Regions from separate parts of the Homo sapiens genome. Here region 1 is linked to region 2. Evidence: promoter capture Hi-C in 16 types of primary human blood cells and fetal thymus (Javierre and others, 2016). All regions are on one chromosome and are shown on one strand. Each heading gives the region's core, a stretch centred on a gene start or on the middle of the fragment in contact. The rest is flanking DNA. Distances are from core to core; before and after follow the strand shown. Region 1 has its middle 14 kb from the start of EPCIP. Region 2 holds the start of DONSON (DNA replication fork stabilization factor DONSON).

What was found. Contacts are between HindIII fragments. The CHiCAGO score rates a contact against its expected background, and 5 or more counts as called.
Region 1: a contact is called between a fragment that was not itself captured here and the fragment with the promoter of DONSON in region 2, in 1 of 17 cell types (total B cells). The highest score is 6.9, in total B cells.

Annotation. Positions count from the first base shown.
Region 1 is chr21:32,825,077-32,830,377 of GRCh38, forward strand. No RefSeq gene overlaps it. Among named protein-coding and RNA genes, the nearest start is that of EPCIP, 14 kb to the left of the region's middle. The HindIII fragment of the contact is 3,431 bases long and covers 323-3,753 here.
Region 2 is chr21:33,586,480-33,591,261 of GRCh38, forward strand. DONSON (DNA replication fork stabilization factor DONSON) reads right to left here and starts at 2,205. Exons shown (of 10, transcript NM_017613.4): 1 at 1,842-2,205; 2 at 1,043-1,123. The coding sequence starts at 2,162. CRYZL1 (crystallin zeta like 1) reads right to left here. Exons shown (of 13, transcript NM_145858.3): 12 at 4,683-4,728; 13 at 2,862-3,442. The coding sequence ends at 3,343. RefSeq lists a silencer at 1,746-2,435 and an enhancer at 1,894-2,393. The HindIII fragment of the contact is 12,197 bases long and covers 38-4,782 here.

The sequences.
Region 1 (5,301 bases), core at 788-3,287, 760 kb before region 2:
CCAAAGTGGTGACAACCCATGTCCATCAACTGATGAATAGATAAATAAAATGTGGTATATCCACACAATGGAATATTATTCAGCACCGAAAAAGAATGATGTACTGATACATACTGCCACATGGATAAACCTTGAAACATTATCTAAGTGCAAAATGCCAGTGTGAAAGCACCACATATGGTATGATTTCATTTATATGAAATGTCCAGAATAGGAAAATCCATAGAGACAGAAAATAGATTGGTGATTTCCTAGGGCTGGAGGTGAGATGAAATGGGGAATGACTGCTAATGGGCATGGGTTTATTTTTGGGGTGATGAAAAGCTTCTAAAATTGATTGTGGTGATGGTTACACAATTCTGTGAATACACTAAAACCAACGAAGTTTGCACTTTACATGGGTGAATTGTGTAGTATTTGAATTATGTCTCATTAAAGCTGTAAAGAAGAAGTAATTGAAGAAATCAGAAAGGAAATGTATTAGATAAACAGAACTGATAGGCTATATATAGATGTAAAGAAAGGGATTTATTATGAGGGATTAGCTCACATAATTGTGGAGGCTGAGAAGTCCCTCCATCTGCCATTTGGAAGTTGAAGGTCCAGGAAAGCCAGTGGTATAGTTTCAGTCCCAGCCCAAAAGCCTGAGACCCAGAGGAACCAATGATGTGAGTCTAAGTCTGAGCCCAAAGACCCGAGAAGCTGGAGAGCTGATGTCCAAGGGCAGAAGAAGACGGATGTCCCAGCTGAAGCAGAGAGAGCCAATTCACCCTTCCTCCATCAGCTATTTGCTTGTTAATCCTGATTGTGCAAATAGCTCAGTGTGCAAAATATATGTCTAAGAGGGAGAGGAGGCTGGGCGCGGTGGCTCACGCCTGTAATCCCAACACTTTGGGAGGCCGAGGCGGGCGGATCACGAGGTCAGGAGATCGAGACCATCCTGACTAACACGGTGAAACCCTGTCTCTAATAAAAATACAAAAAATTAGCTGGGCATGGTGGTGGGCGCCTATAGTCCCAGCTACTCGGGAGGCTGAGGCAGGAGAATGGCGTGAACCCGGGAGGCGGAGCTTGCAGTGAGCCGAGATCGTGCCACTGCACTCCAGTCTGGGCAACAGAGCGAGACTCCGTCTCAAAAAAAAAAAAAAAAAAAAAAAAAGACGGAGAGGACACACAGGAGATCTGGGCGACGAACTAGCTCTGTTATTTAAACAACCATTGTAAAAGTTGTTTATGTATCCAGGTGGAGAGCCACTGATGAGGGAACTTGCTGGGCTTAGTTTCTGAGTCTCCACCAAACCTGTGCCTTCTGCTAAGCTGGGGATCTGCTAGCTGCCTACTAAAGGACGGGTGCCTGGAATCCACTGACAGTTTCACATACGGTGTGTTCTGGGGCATCAGCCACCTAGCTGGGGAGAGGGCCCTGGCTCAGAAGACTATGAGGGTGCACAGGAATAACTGGGGCTCCGTCACCCAAGGGAGGGTGCCTGTAGGACTCAGTTTAAGGGACAGTTTCAACCTCCTGGTGCCATCTTTCACTTATGTCCCACACTTCCAGTTAGTCTTGTGCCTCATCTAAATAACCACACCCTGATATTTGCCAAACTGGACCATGAGCATCCCCTCAGATTCTGCTTCAAACCATAGCTGAGCAGGCAACTCCGTATAGGCCCCAAGGCATGTGTATTTCTGATCAAGTCCTCCACCTACTGGTGACACTTGATTCTCACGTCCCTAGGGTTTACCAACAACACTTGTCTTTCCAGACTGTTCTATTAGAGTGTATGCTGACACTCCTCCATAACGACAACAACAAAAAATTAATGCCTGTTAGAGGCGCTATCCATGAAGCAGCAACAGGAGACTGACTGCTTTTGCTATGAGCCAGAGTCTGATGTGATAAAACCAGAAACAAAAACCAGCCTCTTGTCTTGGTGAAAAAGGGGGCCACTAGGCAAAAGGATGGCGAGAAAGGCCACCTGCATTCCTCATTCAAATTCTTCCTCATTCCTTGATTTCTCTCAACAGGTAGCCATCAAATCTGAGATTCGGTGTTGTTATAAATCTCTTCAAGAATATTGGGGAAGAGGCTGGGCATGGTGGCTCACGCCTGCACTTTGCGCCTCCCAGCACTTTGGGAGGCTGAGGAGGGCAGATCATGAGGTCAGGAGTTCAAGACCAGCCTGGTCAACATGGTGAAAACCCGTCTTCTACTAAAAATACATAAATTAGCTGCGTGTGGTGGCAGGAGCCTGTAATCCCAGCTACTTGGGAGGCTGAGGCAGGAGAATAGCTTGAACCCGGGAGGCGAAGTTTGCAGTGAGCTGAGATCATGCCACTGCACTTCAGCCTGGGAAACAGAGTGAGACTCCATCTTAGAAAAAAAAAAAAGGACTATTGGGGAAAAAATAGCAAACCCTGGACATTTCAGATCACTAAACTACCCCTTGTGTGACTTGCTCAAAATAATGTTATTACAAACTCATGGAATATTACTGGCTTTAGGCGATGACACAGTTGCAGTAATGTTCTGATTTGATTATTCAGAAATGAAATTTATGGTTTAAATTTCATCCAGGATTTATAGAATTTAAAAAAGTTATTCTTCAGTATTTGAAATACCACTTTGCCAAAGCAGAAAAGCCATAAATGTGTTAAACTGGCTAAGAAAATTAAGATGGCAGTAATACATTTTCTAATAAAAATCATAGCATAATAGCAAAATTACTGCGGAAAACCACAGTTATTGTGGCAAAGACATAAAATGTTACAGCTGCAATAATATGCTATTTGTTTTGGCAGGAGAATAAGAATACTGTACATTGCAGTTTTTCAATATTGGAAAAACATAAGAAAATACTATAAACTTAAAAGACTATTTTTTAAAAATGAAGAAGTGCATGAATGATTTTAAATTTTGAGCATATAAAAGAGTCTTGCTGCAAAGTCTATTGAACTCCTGAGAAGACTCTGTTTTGCTGTTTCTGATTTGCCAGTATCCTACCAGAAAACTATGCCTCCCAATAGAAAAAGAACACATAATCCTGTCTGTATTTGAGGGTTCAAGCCTGGAGATTCCGCCCCCTTGGTCGGTTGATTTTTATTGGAAACCCAAGATGCACCTGCCTGTGGAATGCATTTCAGAATGTGGAAGTACAGCAGGAAGAAAGCAGACAAGAACACAATCCCATGGTATTCTTGGTTAGGGACAGCTTGGGGGTCAGTGGGGGAGACATACACAGATTAAATGATTAATAGAGTAATTCAGCTTATTTACATTAGTCTGGTTTTTTACATGAGGGGCTCACAAATTCTTAATTTGTCCTTTCTTTATTATATTTTTCTTTTTTGCTATCTTTCAATATTGATTATCCATTTCTTCCCTTAATTACTAGACTTTCTGAACTTTTAAAAACATATATCTTCCAACTGGAAAGTATCTGTCCCTTATAACAACTACCAGTACTACTCATAAAACAACAAAAACCCATATAGCACTTAATAAGTGTCAGTCAGTATTTTAAACAGTTTATGCATATTATTCATTTAATCCTCTCAATGACCCTGTGAGAAGGTGCCATTATTCTCCTTATTTTTCATACGTGGAAAGTAAAGAGTAGGGAGAAACTGTCCAAGCTCACACAGCTAGTAAGTCATAGAGCTGAGACTGGAACCCAGATAGCCTGGCCCCAGAGTCCTTCACTATTCTGAATTTATAAAGATATTTTTGATATTTTCTTCCCAAAGTTTTAAAGCTTTCCTTTTCACATTGGAGTTTTAAATCTATCTATAATTAATTTTGAGTATGGCATGATTTAGGTATAACTTTTTATATGAAAAACTAATTTTCCCAGTTCTATTTATTGATATGCAAATATAAAATGTCTCTCTTTCTCTCTCTATATATATATCTGAGGTTGTTTTTGAGTGCTTTATATTCTTGCTTTGGTCTGAAAATTCACAGGTTGAAATTCTAACTCTTGAGACGATGGTATTAGAAAGCAGGGCCTTTGGAAGGCGATTACGTCATAAGGGTAGAGCCTTCAGGAATGGGACTTAGTGCCCTTAGAAGAAGCTGAGAGACCAGCGTTTTCTCTCTTCCATCATGTGAGGACACAGCAAGAAGGCACCATCTATGAACCAGAAAGTGCCCCTCACCAGACATCAAATCTGCTGGCACCTTGATCTTGAACTTCCAGCCTTTAGAACCATGAGGAATAAATGTCTGTTTTTATAAGTCATCCAATAGGTGATGTTTTGTTATAGGGCCTGAGTAGTCTTAGACAGTTACAGATGATTCGCTCTCACTGACTGTTGAATATTATTCTAAGTGTGGATATTACACAATTTATTTACCCATTCTACTATTTTAATTTTATTTTTTTTAATGTTTGAGACAGGATCTTGGTCTGTCACCCAGGCTAGAGTGCAGTGGCACAATCATGGTTCACTGTATCCTCCAACTTCTGGGCTTAAGGGTTCCTACCACCTCAACCTCCTGAGTAGCTGGGACTACAAGAATATGCCAACATGCCCAGCTAATTTTTCATCTTTAAAAAAAAATTATTTTGTAGAGTGGGATCTCACTATGTTGCCCAGGCTAATCTTGAACTCCTGGGCTCAAGCGATCCTTCTGCCTTGGCCTCCTAAAGTGCTGGGATTATAGGCGTGAGCCACTGTACCTAGTCCCATTCTACTATAGATGGGCATGTGGGTTGTATCCAGTTCTTTTACTATTATAAATAGTGAAGCCATGAACATTCTCCTAAATGTGTTTTGGTGAACATGTATATACATTTCTGTTGAGTATACATCCAAGATTGAAATTGCTGGGTCACAGACTACACATATGTTTCTGCTTTAGTAGATGTCGCCTGACAGTTTTCTAAGGTGGGTGGGCCATTTTACACCCCGACCAGTAGTATATGAGGGTCCCCGTTGTTCCTCACTCTTGCCCACACTTGATAGTGTCTTCTTCCCTTTAGTCATTCTTGTGTACACAATTGTGGTCCTAGGTGACATTTTCTTGATAACTATTTGAAGGCTATCTTCTTTGTGTGGTGACATAATTGCTCATAATTCTGCCCATTTTTTTCTTTTGGGTTGTCTGACATTTAATACAAATCGCTTTGTAGGAGTTCGTTATATAATCTGAATGAGTCCTTTGTTGAATACATGTATTTTAAATATATTCTCCCACTCTGTGGCTTAACTTTTCACTCTTAACACTGTCTTTTGATGAACAAAAGTTTTTAATCTTTTTTATTTTTTGAGACAGAGTTTCACTCTTGTTGCCTGGGG
Region 2 (4,782 bases), core at 955-3,454:
GAAATATTCCAAGTGTTAAAACATTTTGGATCTTTTAAGCTTCTGAAACTCTGCATCCAGGGCTAACAAAGCCCATATTTAAGAAACATTTCCTGACTTCAAATATTTCCCCTCAACCTGTCTGCTTCAGGTCGACGTTCTCCACAATACAAGAATTTTTTTTTTTTTAAATTGAGACGGAGTCTCCCTCTGTCGCCTAGGCTGAGTGAAGTGGTGTGATCTCGGCTCAGTACCAACCTCTGCCGCCTAGGATCAAGCGATTCTCGTGCCTCGTCCTCCCGAGTACCTGGGACTACAGGCGTGCCCCACCACGCCTGGCTAATTTTTTTGTATTTTTAGTCGAGACGGGGGTTTCGTCATATTGGCCAGGCTGTTCGCGAACTCCTGACCTCAGGTGTGATCCGCCTGCTTCAGCCTCTCAAAGTGTTGGGATTACAGACATGAGCCACTGTGCCCGGCCAAGCATTCTTTTATATCACAATAAAATATCAGAGAAGGGGGAACTATCTTGGATAGACCATAAGAAGGTCACTTATTTACAAGAGAAACTGGGTCTTGGAGAACTCTTCTAGCCTGTTCCCATTAGGACAAACCGCATTTATCAAACTACACAGCACAATGGTAGTAGTTGGGGAATGGAAACGTGTGTGTGTTAGGGGAGAGGAGCAACGAGGTTCAGTGCTATGCCACAACCTGTGGAGGTGGGCCAGGAGGGCTGGCTCTGAGTGATGAACTGGAGAAGTCAACTGCCCAAAGAAGAGTGGTAAAAACTGTTAGAGAGTAAAAGAAAACCCCCACGTCTATCAGGCCTATTTTAGCGCTGGCTATCTTTACAGTCATCATTACTGTATCAAACCAACTCCTTTACCTTGGCTGATGCGGTATTTTCATCCCTGGTTGAGATGATCAAGCCTCTCTGTAAAACTACTTTCCAAGCAAAATGCTTCTGAGAAGTATAAATGTATTTTTAAAAATAGGCTCAAATCCTATGAAAAAAAAGTTTATACAAATACACATTCTAATGATATTTAAAAAGTATTACCTGAGGTAATTCAGTAACAGTTGTTCTTTCAGGAAACTTCTCTTCCCATAGCAAATCATTTTCTTGATTAGAATCTAAAAACTGAGGTTAAATATATTCTCCTTTAAAATTTAAAGGATGCTGAAGTTTGCGTTAAATATGTACAGAGCCTCACCTGGCATACATGTTTCTCAATAAACGCAAGTACACCTAAATTCAGAGGCACCCCATCCAATCTATGAGTTTCAACACTTCAGTTTTGTGTCTGAACTTTAGTATCAAAATTGAGGGGAACAGGGACCGGCGTTTCAAACCGAAAGATCCAAAAGGCTTTGGGTAAGACAGATGCTAGTGAATTCTGACCCCACGAATCCTCGACATTCCCCCATCTCCAGAATAATTTGGAGTGCGTGAGAGAAGGGAGGCCCTAAATCACGGGGGAAGCAGGGCTTGTCACCTGCCCCATCGAACAGCGTCCTTGCAAGATGGGGGCTCTCAGGGTTTTTCGAGCTCTTTTCCAAGTCACCTCTAAGTCCTCTCCAAGGGGCTCCTCGCTGCCCTCTGGGGCCCCCTCACTTTCCTCGGGAACGCGTCCCGTGAGCACAGCCCGCAGCGGGGTAGCCAGGGGAGCGCTCTTCCCACAAACCCGGCCTTGCCAGAATCGCGGCTCCCAGGGCGGGGTACCCTAAGGCCACGGGCGGCCGAAGTCTTCGCGCCCATTTCCTTGCCTCGAACGCGAGGACTTTCCATCCCCCATTCACAGCTGGCTCAACCCACGAAAGACAAGAGCCCCTTGGCGGCCAGGCTACAAGACACTCACCGGGACCGGGGCCTCCGGCTGCTCGCGGGCCGGCCCGTCGGGGGGCTCCGCGGCGACCCGCGGTCGGTTGTCCAGGCGGGCGAAGGGGTTCCTCCGAGCAGCGGCCGGGCCGCCGCCGCTGCCACCGCCTCTGCCCCCCGCAGCAGGGAAAGGGCGAAGAGGCAGCCCCGCCACCAGGGCGGCTCGGCGGGCCGCCGGCTCCGTCAGCTCACGGGGCGGGGAGGCGGCAGCTCCACGGCTCCGGGCCCTTTTCCGTCGGAGCCGCACTACCTCGGGCGGCTTTCGGAAGCCCGGTGAGTAGCCGGGCACCGAAAGGGCCATGACGCGCGGCGGCTGAGGGTAGCCGGCCGCCCTACAGAGACTTCCCGCGCGCGCCGGGCCCGCCCCTGACGTGGCGCCTCGCCGAGCTCCCGCCCCCGACGCGGCCCCGCCTCCGCCCCCGCCGGTTCCGAGCGGAGCATGCGCAGTGGGCAGCCCGCGAGACGCAGCCCGCAGCGGCGATCCCGGGTGGCCGTCAACGCCCACTGTCCCAGCGGTGACCCTGCCCTGGCGCTTCTGCCAGGTCCTCGGCCAGAGTCCAGTCGCCAGGTTCAGCGACGCTTCTGGAAAGTATGCGATCCAGGGCGCTGATGTGCACTACCCTGTGGGGCACCGAAATAGCTTAACTCTATTTAAGCCCGCAGCAGGGATGTGATCAGCCCGGGGTTTGGCGCCTGGATGAAAAGGAAACAAACTTGAGCTGCGGCGATGGGCTGCTGCTTCCATAAACTTAAGAGAGGGCAGTGGCTACTGCTCTCAAGAGGCGAGGAGAGGGGACTAGGCCACCTTCCTCAACCCCCAGAGAACTCAGATAAGACGTCAGCACGCTTCCTATGCCAGCGCAGCCTACCGACATCCCTCCCTTCCCCGTTCCCAGTGCCTGGTCATCTCAGACTTCCAGGCAGCTGCCACTGGCAAGTTAATGGGATCTTCTTTGATCCTGGGGAAAGCCGGAGTGAATGAATAGTTGAAAACACAAAATTTAAGTGCCTATGGGCTAAGTCTTTTAAGACTTCAAAATATACTCAAATGCTTAAATTATGACAGCAAAGACTTAAGGAAGGTGTTGAGAACGGAGTTGATACAAAATTAATACGTTACTTTGATAGCTTAGCAAAGGCCTGCAACAGCTTTTATCAAGAGTAGTGTGACTTTTGCTGAAAGCAGCAGTTTTCTTCATGGAAGGAATTTTATAGCAGGGGCAAAATATATAGAAACAATGAAAAGGTTTTTAGAAAAATTCCCTTAAGATGTTAATTATAGAATTATCTTGATCATTTGCACAAGAATTTTTCAAACACTTTTCAAATGTGTCAACTGAGCATCTTGTCTTAGCAGAGAAACGTGCTTAAAAATGCAACTTGTTTTATCTTCCTTGGTTTTTCTCAACAATTTCCAAAGAAAATTCTGGCTTCAAATACTGGAATATGTTCATCCGACTGAGGTCTGAGAAAGAAGAAAATTAAAATTGAACAACTTGCTTTTTTCTTCCTTGATTTTTCTGAACAGCTTCCATGGAAACTTTTGCCTCATACAGTGGAATGGGTTCATCCAACTGAGGTCTGAGAAGGAATGAAATTAGAAATGTCAGGTCTAGTTAAAGATAAGTAGAACAAACAGGGTGGTATATGACAAATGCTAGTGCTCAAATCTATTAGTGTATTAATTAATTTTTTGAGACAGAGTCTGGCTCTCTCATCCAGGCTGGAGTGCAGTGGCACGATCTCAGCTCACTGCAACCTCCGGCTCCCGGGTTCAAGCAATTCTCATACTTCAGCCTCCTGAGTAGCTGGGATTACAGGCATGCACCATCAAGCCTGGCTAATTTTTGTATTTTTAGTAGAGATGGGTTTCACCATGTTGGCCAGGCTGGTCTTGAACTCCTAGCCTCAAGTGATCCACCCACCTTAGCCTCCCAAAGTGCTGGGATTACAGGCATGAGCCACTGCACCCGGCCTCAAATCTATTACTTTAAGTAATTCAAACAAATTCGTCCATTAGTGTTTCCAATGTTAAAAGTGGTTAAGTTTTGAAGGAAAAAAATTATCTACTTTATTTACTCCCTCTTTTTTTCTGAGACGGAGTTTCTCTTGTTGCCCAGGCTGGAGTGCAATGGTGTGATCTCGGCTCACTGCAACCTTCACCTCCCAGGTTCAAGCAATTCTCCTGCCCCAGCCTCCCAGTAGCTGGGATTATGGGCGTTCGCCACCACGCTCAGCGAATTTTTCTATTTTTTAGTAGAGACAGTGTTTTGCCATGTTGGCCAGGCTGGTCTCGAACTCCTGATCTCAGGTGATTCACCCACTTCAGCCTCCCAAAGTGCTGGGATTACAGGCGTGAGCCACCACGCCTGGCCTACTCCCTCTTTTATAACTGATAAACATATTCAACTTTAAACAAATATACCATGGTTTTCTCTCCTTCAAGCTATTGGTTACTTCAAGTTGCTTTGGGAGGGGTGATGAGGAAAAGCAAAGGGTGAGGTACACTACATAATGGAGTGAGGAAAACTCACAAGCCACTTCTATCTCTGCGAGTACCTACTGGTGTACCACCAGATACACTTTGATAAATATTAAAGAGCAGCTATTTAAACGAAATATAAGATCAGTGCAAAAGTAAATGCAGTTTTTGCCATTACTTTCAATGGCAAAAACCACAATTATGTTTGCACCAACCTAATAATAAAATATGGAGGCAACAGGTACATGGCGAGAGCTAAAACAAAAGTGGGACTGCCTGCCTTAGCTCCCTGAAAATAGAAAAACAAACAAGAACAATGATTTGGTTACTTTAGCGTACCTGAAAACACCAGTTGATAACTTCTCCATCACATCCTTTAAGATACGTAGCTGGAAGGATTGTTAAGGTGGCAATGTAAAGGAGAATTAAATAAAACCAT